Regions from separate parts of the Homo sapiens genome. Here regions 1 and 2 are each linked to region 3. The links are contacts of gene promoters, found by promoter capture Hi-C in blood cells and fetal thymus (Javierre and others, 2016). All regions are on one chromosome and are shown on one strand. Each heading gives the region's core, a stretch centred on a gene start or on the middle of the fragment in contact. The rest is flanking DNA. Distances are from core to core; before and after follow the strand shown. Region 1 holds the start of PHF8 (PHD finger protein 8). Region 2 holds the start of FAM120C (family with sequence similarity 120 member C). Region 3 holds the start of KLF8 (KLF transcription factor 8).

What was found. The method cuts DNA at HindIII sites, captures the fragments that hold promoters and counts their contacts. A CHiCAGO score of 5 or more calls a contact.
Region 1: a fragment that was not itself captured here is called in contact with the fragment with the promoter of KLF8 in region 3 in 1 of 17 cell types (M0 macrophages); the score reaches 7.0 in M0 macrophages.
Region 2: a contact is called between the fragment with the promoter of FAM120C here and the fragment with the promoter of KLF8 in region 3, in 1 of 17 cell types (M2 macrophages). The highest score is 9.7, in M2 macrophages.

What each region holds. Positions count from the first base shown.
Region 1 is chrX:54,043,269-54,045,968 of GRCh38, forward strand. PHF8 (PHD finger protein 8) reads right to left here and starts at 1,205. Exons shown (of 22, transcript NM_015107.3): 1 at 494-1,205. RefSeq lists enhancers at 877-1,126, 1,337-1,796 and a silencer at 1,147-1,316. The HindIII fragment of the contact is 3,125 bases long and covers 1-2,700 here.
Region 2 is chrX:54,181,842-54,184,541 of GRCh38, forward strand. It overlaps FAM120C (family with sequence similarity 120 member C), which reads right to left and starts at 1,413. Exons shown (of 16, transcript NM_017848.6): 1 at 659-1,413. The coding sequence starts at 1,357. RefSeq lists silencers at 906-955, 966-1,175, 1,746-1,845. The HindIII fragment of the contact is 3,156 bases long and covers 1-2,700 here.
Region 3 is chrX:56,230,955-56,233,654 of GRCh38, forward strand. KLF8 (KLF transcription factor 8) reads left to right here and starts at 1,402. Exons shown (of 6, transcript NM_007250.5): 1 at 1,402-2,387. The coding sequence starts at 2,381. The HindIII fragment of the contact is 3,283 bases long and covers 1-2,700 here.

The sequences.
Region 1 (2,700 bases), core at 172-2,671, 2.2 Mb before region 3:
GGCCAACCAGAGAGAGATAAGGGATCCCTGAAAGTCTCTTCAGGTTACTCAAAGCCTTCACGAACAAGACAGACAAGACTAGGCGCCCAACTCAAATCACAGTTCTGGGGTCGTGTTCGGAGAGTTTAAATAATCCTTTCCATCACTCTCAATATCATTCCTTCCCCGACCAGTCAGGAGTCTCATCACCCCCAAAACTGAAATAAATATAAATCTCTAAACTGACCAGCTCGTTCTGTACTTTAAAGATGACAGGGTTCTGGCTGCATCCCTGAAACTCAAAAGGATCTATTCAAAACCCCTCAAACTGACTAGAATTTCCTCACACTCCCGAAACTAAGCAAGGATTCTTTTGCATCGCTCGGAAACTGGCAGCGTTTCCTTGCAGCCCCCCCTCAAACTGATGAGAGCTCCCTAGTCTCCCCAAATGTTCAGGTACCTCACAGTATATCCTAAAACTGACAGTAATAGCCTCGCAGCCCCCAAAACTTACAGGAATCTTAACGCTTCCCCAACTGACAGGAACCTCCTCACGCCCCAAACCTGACAAGAACGTCTTCAGTCCAGAATCCTACAGGGACCTCCTCATGCTTTGGGCTGCAAGGACTCCACGCCCGCGGAGCTCAGCCCCAGCGACACGCCGGCAGCCGGGCTAGCTCCGGGACTGCGAAGCGCCTCAGCGGAGGCTCGTCCGGTAGTTCCGGCCCCTACGGCGACGCGCGTCGAATTCTGGGATAGTCCCCGTACCGCCGGGAACCTCGCTCGCCTTCCCCTCGAGCCCCCCGCTGGGTCGCGCGGCGCCAGCCGCTCAACGGTGCTTCAGAGCAGCCTCCTCCACAACATTCCCCTCGGCCCGGCCGTTCGGGCCTACTGGAGACCGCGGCTTGGGCCTAGTCTGGCGGCCGCCCGGCGAACGGGCAAGTGGCGTCGTCGCTGGGCCGGCAGGAGATACTCGCGAGCAAACCAACGGGGAAAGAGATGAACCGGCCGCCACGTCCGAGGCACACGGCCCGAAAAGTCGCTGGGAGAAGCCCAGTGGCGGTGGTAGGCAATTCGGAGTAGTCAATAAAGTTTATTCAAAACAATGAGGAAGTTGAGGCGGAGAGGGGAGGAGAAATACGGGATAAACAGCTACCATGTTGAGAGTGGCGGCGCTACCCAGACAACCAAGGCGACCGCCATCTTATGAGGGCTGGACTCGCGAGGTGAGCGCGGCGGAGGCGGGGAACCGCGAGCCGCCGGCTCCCGGGTGACGTCATCGGGGGGGCGGGGCGCCACCTTGAGAAAGGAGGGCGGTTCTCAGCCACCTTTGGACCCGCTCGTCTCTTTAAGGTGCCCAATCGCCGCTGAAGACCTTGAGCCCAGAGGCGGAGAAGCCGCCATCTTAGGCGAGGCAGACGTTTGGCTCCATTTTGAGTGGGGCCCGAAACTTCCTAGCCTTCCCCCTCCTCCGGGCAAACAGGGAGTTCAGCTACCCCGACTCGCACACTCCTCCTCCCCAGCCTTCTCCTCCTATGAGAGGAGGTGAACTCGGTGACTCCAAACTACAAAATTAATAGGTGGCGGCGGGGGCGGGCTTCAGCCGGGGTAGAGGCGGAGTACTCACCGCGGCTCCTGTTCATTGAGCACCTTCGATAGGCTGGGCTCTTTCCCACGGTCTCTGCGTTGTTGGTTCTTCCCCCTGTGAAGGAAGCTCTGTGATTATCACCAAATGAAGGCAGGGGCTTCGAGAAGCCAAGTGACTTGAGTCCCGGAGCAGGGACGTTGAACCTTGTGCCCTGTGCTACCCGCGTTCTGTCCCCAGGCCCTCAGTGTAGTTCCTCTGTAAAGCTGCTGCCAACTCCACAACTCCCTCTGAACTCTTCTTTGACCCTACTGTTTCACTTCAGTTCAAATACAGTTCAAGGATTTGTTTGCACCTGTCCCACAATTTTCTGACTATAGCCTGAGGGGAGGGGAGAGGAGGGGGGATGAGAGGAAAGGCTGAGTTAGTGGAGCTTTGCTGAGTTAGTGGAGCTTCGTACATATGCTTCAAGATGGCCTAGGTTTTCTCAAACATTCTAGAAAATTCTCTAGGAGTTATCTTACTATTTCATTTTCTTAAAGGGTCCCATTGCTTTAAAAAGGAAATGTGTGCGTGCACACAATTTACTAACCAGTGATGGTGGGGTAGGCCCTGGGGATGCAATGGTGAAAACAGGGCCTCTGGAGTGGGAGGGCATCTGCCAGTGCAGGAAACAAAGTTGCGAGTAAACAATTGGAATAGAAGGCACAGTAAGCACACAAATACCACCTGCAAAATGACCTTTGCAAAATGCAACATGAAGCTACAAAAGAGCCTTACAAGCTGCTTGCAGCTGCTGTAAGAAAGACGGCAGGGGGACATGGACGATTAAGTTCACTTAAATAAACAAGCGAGAACATTGTACTCAAAAGGATCAACGTGTACAAATGCATGGAGGCACATAGAAAAATATTTACTAGAAGTTGAATATTGTTGGAACAAGGAAAACAGAAGAGAGATAGGTAGGAGGTCAAACAGTAAAGGGTCACAACATGAAAGATTGCGAAATGCAAAAGAGTTTAGATTGTATGCAGTTAGCAAAAAGAAAACACAGGTTTTTGAGCAGGGGTAGCTTAGTCTCATATTTGTGACTTACCCAGAGGATGGTTTAGGGTTTTTTTTTTTTTTTATGTTTG
Region 2 (2,700 bases), core at 163-2,662, 2.0 Mb before region 3:
CAAGGGCATGAGCAGTGTCTCACATGTCTTTAAAACCCTTACACTCAGTGAGTTAATACTTGCTGAACAGTGACTGAATCAGTGGGTTTTTATGTGTTTAGGCTAAGGCAGGAGGAAGAAGATGCATGTTGAAATGAAAAAGGCTGAATGGACACAGATGGGTAAAAAAGCAGCAGTGGGTGAAGACGGAAAAACAATGTAGAAGAAAGGTGTTCAGTTCACACCTGCTTAAGTGATTTACTGCGAGGTTGGAAAGAGATACAGGAGAGAGATGTCAACTGGCAAAAGCAGGGTAAAGGCATTTCAGTTTGAGGCAGAAGACACCAGGAGAAAGATGAGGCTACAAAAGAAATTCTGACTAGATTCTGCTGAAACCTAGTGGTAGGCCAATTGGATAAGGGAAGCTAAAGGGAGCTACTGGGATGACATGAGTAGAGATATGGCCATGTAGGTGAGTGAATCCGTAGGGGGTGGTATGAAGGGGGAGGTAAATGGATAAAATGGTAGAGGGTAGTTAGGCAGGTAGGTTAGCTGTTGGGCGGGTAGGTGGGTGGGTAGATGGGAGGTAGGGTAGTGGGTAAGTGGGTAGGTGGTTAGGTATTTAGTTGGGAGGGAATAGGTGTGGGGCTTATTATTTAAGATCCGGCCCCTCCCTCACCTTGACCCGGAAGCGGATGAGTGCTAGCCTCACGCAGTGGCTCAGGCAGGCCGGTGGCAGGAACCAGGCCCGCGGTGGAGGGGTGCCCTTGTTGCCCACGTGTCCCACGATCAGTTGCGCTGTCTGCCGCTCGGCCTGGCACCGACGGCCCCACTCGGCCAGCCGGTCCTTGCCCAGGCCCCCCGGGAACATGACCACGAGCTCCAGGCCGTCGCCGCCAGGATAGGCACAAGCCTGGCACAGCGCTGACAAGTAGCCCAGCATGGCGTTCCATTGGCCGCCACACACCCAATCCGTCTGGTAGCCGCCATAGAGCCGCGGCAGCGCCGAGCCGGCGTCCACCAGCACCCGGGCCCCGGGCAGCTGAGGGGGCGGCGGCGGCGGCAGCGGAGGGTGCAGCCCGGGCTGCGCTTGGCCATGATGGTGGAAGTGGTGAGCGGGGTGATGGTGCCGAGTCGGCCCCGCGCCCCCGGAGTAGGCACCCAAGGCAGCGGGCGGAAGCGGCGGTTGCAGAGGCACGGAGCCCCTGGCGGCGCGTGGAGCCCCGGGCGCTAGGGCTGCAGTCGGCGGCAGCTGGCGGTGCAAGTGCTGCTGCTGCTGCTGGCGCGAGACCGTGCGCGCGAGTTTTAGGAGGTCCACGGGCACCACGGCCCCGGGACAGCGCTTCTCCAGGAACTCTTGGAAGCCCTGGACACCCATGCTTCGTCGGTGGGCAGACGCGATAGCGGCTGCGCAAGCAGGATAGGCGACGATCTGGGCGCGAAGCTGGGGGCGGGCGCGTGCGCACTCCGCGGGGGGCGAGGGGGGGCGGGAAAAGGATTCCCGAGGGGAGGGGTGAGGAAGCGAGGGAATGAGGGCGGGGAGGGGAGGAGACCACAAATTGGATTTGGGTAGAGAGAAGGGGAGGGGCAGACCGGACCCGGGAGAGGCTGGGAGGATAAAAGCGAGGATGGGCTCTAGTCACTTCTCTTTTTTCTCCTTTCCGGCCGCTCTTCTTCCCGCTTTAGAAGGGGTGAAGCCTCTTTCTTCCACCTCCGGGAGCCATGTTGCCTCGTCTTCTCGGTGGTACACGCTTTCTAGCTGGAGGAAGGGGAGCGAGGAGGGGCGGGGCGGGGCGGGGAGAGGGGCATCTTGGTAGTTGTAGTCTTCTCTATGGCCTTAGGATATAGTCGAGGAACCAGACTACCACCCTTCTCAGCCCTTGTGCTCACAGGGTCACAGGAAGCGGGGCGTGATGATGAGTGTTTAGGAGTTGCACTCCAACTCCTTGCATCTCACTGAGTTGCTTAGGTTATTTACTGCTTTTTCCTGGAAAAAGAGTTTTGGGGGATGGATTGATGCATCATGGGAATGGAAGTTAGAGTGGATTGACTGAATTCAGCTAAAGTGAGCTAAAACTCCCCAGGAGGGAGGATTTTCCCCTTAGTGGAAAGATAATATTTAAAGAGCTGTTGGTCCCAATTAAGAAAGACGTAACTGGTCGGGCGCGGTGGCTCACGCCTGTAATCCCTCCGAGGCGGGCAGATCACGAGGTTAGGAGATCGAGACCATCCTGGCCAACATGGTGAAACCCCGTCTCTACTAAAAATACAAAAAGTAGCCGGGCGTGGTGGCACGTGCCTGTAATCCCAGCTACTGGGGAAGCTGAGGCAGGAGAATCGCTTGAACCTGGGAGGCGGAGGTTGCAGTGAGCCAAAATCATGTCACCGTACTCCAGCCTGGTGACAGAGCCAGACTCCGTCTCAAAAATAAATAAATAAATAAAAAGAAACTTACATTATTTACTTGCCTAAGGCAATGCAGAGACAAAGTTAAATCGAATATCCTTGCCCTCAGCATCTCTTTGGGCAGGGAGATAATTACCAACACAAATTACATTACAAATTGTACCTTTTTGGTACTCCTAGATCCACTATGTCCTATGGTTAGGGCCTTTGGTTTCCAAACTTCATTGTGTTTTAGTCTGTCGGGAGCTTTTCTAAATAGCTGCAAGGGCTCTAATTTCAGATGTATGGAGTCATAATCTTTTGAAAAATGTATTT
Region 3 (2,700 bases), core at 152-2,651:
GAAAGTGGACAGATTCATTGGAAGGACATGCAAGAAAAAAAAAGGTGGACAGAGAGCTTAGTCTATTTCAGTCAGAGAAAGTAAAGCAACCCAAGGCATAGAGATTGGAAACAGCTTGGAATTCCCAGGGATTTGTAATCCAGGTAAAGCCCAGGAGAACAGCAAAATCTCTGCTGCTTGAGAGGCAGACAAAGGCCAGATCACAGCAGGTTAAAGGATGAGTTCCAGGGTGCTGCCTTGGATGTATGGTGGTGCCATTCAGGTAGTTGGTGAACTACAGGAGGAAGAACAGAGTGTTTTGGGGAAAGGAAGGTAGATGAGATGCACAGAAGACATTCAGGCAGAAATATCAACTAAGTAAGTAGACCTATGTGTTCGAAAGTACTGGGCTGAGGCCTTCCGTTTCCTTATTTTTTTAAATAAAGGGCACAGAGAATATAACAGTACCTAGTTCCCAGGGTTGTTATTGGGACTAAATGGGGAAATGTTGAATGTAAAAGCACCTGGCTCAGGGACTTGCCCATATTAGGTGCTGAATACATGGCAGATATTATTATTTCTCCTGTCTCTTTGCTCTTCCTCCCTCTGCTTTGTTTCTTGTCTCTCTTCTTTTTCCTCCTCTTTAAAAGAATTGTGGTAGGGAAGAGGCACTGAAAATGGGCTGTGGTTGCTTGTGACTTCCTGGCCTCCCATTAAAATGAGCTAGAGAGAGACTTTCAGGCAAGCGTAAAGAAATCCTGGAAACATGGCTCCTATCCTGTGGATTCAGCTTTACGGGGATCTTCGCCAATGCCTGGCTGAGAGGCGGTCTCAGGGGGTTGAGAACTCTATTCTTAGAGGTCTGGTATCTGGGAGACTGAGAAAGCCTTTCTTAAGTCTCCCTGCTGGGCCACGCTGTATTCACAGATCATCTTCAACTCCTTCTTCTTCCCCACCTACTCCTTCGCCCTCACCTCCTTGGCTTATCTCTTGCTAGAAAATGCACCAAGCTCCAATCTCCGTTCCTTTTAGCTTCCTCCCTGAGAAGACACTGTGACCTCGCTGTCCTTGTTCGTGTTACCATGGAGAGGTAGGAGGATAAATATCGCTTCCAGTTGTCAGCTTTTTTGTTTTCTCCTTTCCCTCTTAGACAGCCCCCAGCCCCAATCCCAGTACCCGTTTCACCACCCTCCCCTGGAGAATTAGCATAACCGGAGTAAATAGGTAATCAAGCAGTGTGCTTGCAAGCCTTAATTTTGGGACAGATAAGGAAGTGAAATTGATTGGAATTATACCTGCCGCTGCTGGAGGCTGAGGGAGGCGGCCGCCGGAGGCGAGGCCAGCTCTGTCGGCCCAGGGCCCCGCCCCACCCCCTCCTTCCTCCCTCCTCCTTCTCAGCCCCACCCTTCTCCACCTCCTCCCACTTTGCACTCTCCTCTAGCGGCCGCCTGTCCTTTTTAAGGAACTCCACCCTAGGTGGAGTCCTCACGATAGTCACACCTCTCCTTTGGGCCTAGCAGGGCCAGAGAAAGACGGAATCACTCTACCCACTCAGGTTGCCCAGAGAGCACTTTAGGTTCTGACTCGCGTGGGGCGCGAGGTACCCCGTGGGGCAGCTAGGTGCCTCCAAGAAACCCCGCCCCAGAGGACCCGCACGAGTTGCTGCCATTTTTCGCTGAAGCCCCTGCCCTGGGGCTGGTGTTCTTCTCTATGATTCTACCAATCGTCGGCATTTTTTTCCTCCCTTCTTTCTTTTTAGGAAGGCGCTGGGGTGTGCGGCGGCAACGGCGGCGGTGAAGGGATCCTCTTGTGGTATCTCCTCGTGGGTTCCTGTCTTGAAGGATTTCTTCTCCGCCTCAACTTTATGTTCAAGTAGCGCTTTGGGGGTTGGGTTGGTTTTCATAGCCCCCACCCCCGGCCCTCTCCTTTTAAAGGGTGTGTGGAGTTCAGAGGATGGGTGGAGAGCGGGCTTGGCCGGAACTGAATTGGTAGAGGTAAAAGGGGAACGGAGGACCTTAAGCTCTGGCCACTTCGGCCCAGCGAACCCACTTTATTTTTGTCCAAGGAAAAGCTGCAGGGGGGAGGATTCTTTTTAGGAAGTCTACTCTGCCGGCCCCTGATTTTTGGGTTGGATGCTTGAGAGCTTTGTTTCCCTTGTTCCGAGAGTGGCCCAGCTGGGTCTGAATCGACTCCCTCCCCTTTCGACCCCCTCCTCATTTTCCAGCCCGGAGAAATAGGGGAGTGGGGGCCCAAGAACGAGAAGACGAGAACGCGTCGCCCTGCGCTATGTCAGAATGGGGCGGGTGTGAGGGGAACAGCTCTCTTGCGATCAGCTCAGGAGTATGAGCCTCCCGGAGGACGGCATGAGTTCTGGACACTTCAGGAGTCCTCAGCTAGTGACATGGTCGGTAAGTGACTCTGGGACTAATACCCACCCACTCCCACCTCTTTCGTCTAGATTCTATCCCCCTCCCAGTCCCCCTGCTCCCCCCACACACCCCACTTGGGGTTTCAGCAGTGGGGGCGGGAGCGGAAGGTTAAGAACACTATGTGGAATCAAATGAAACTCAAGGGAAAATGACTTTGCTAAAGGGCTGGGCAAAGAAAGGCCAAGAAGGAGAGGAGAGAGCTTGGTGGAAGAAGTGAAAGGGGGCAAGAATGGATGGATTTGTCTAGTCTAGTCTCCCCTGGCTCGGCACTCCCAATACTCCTTAAGCGGTA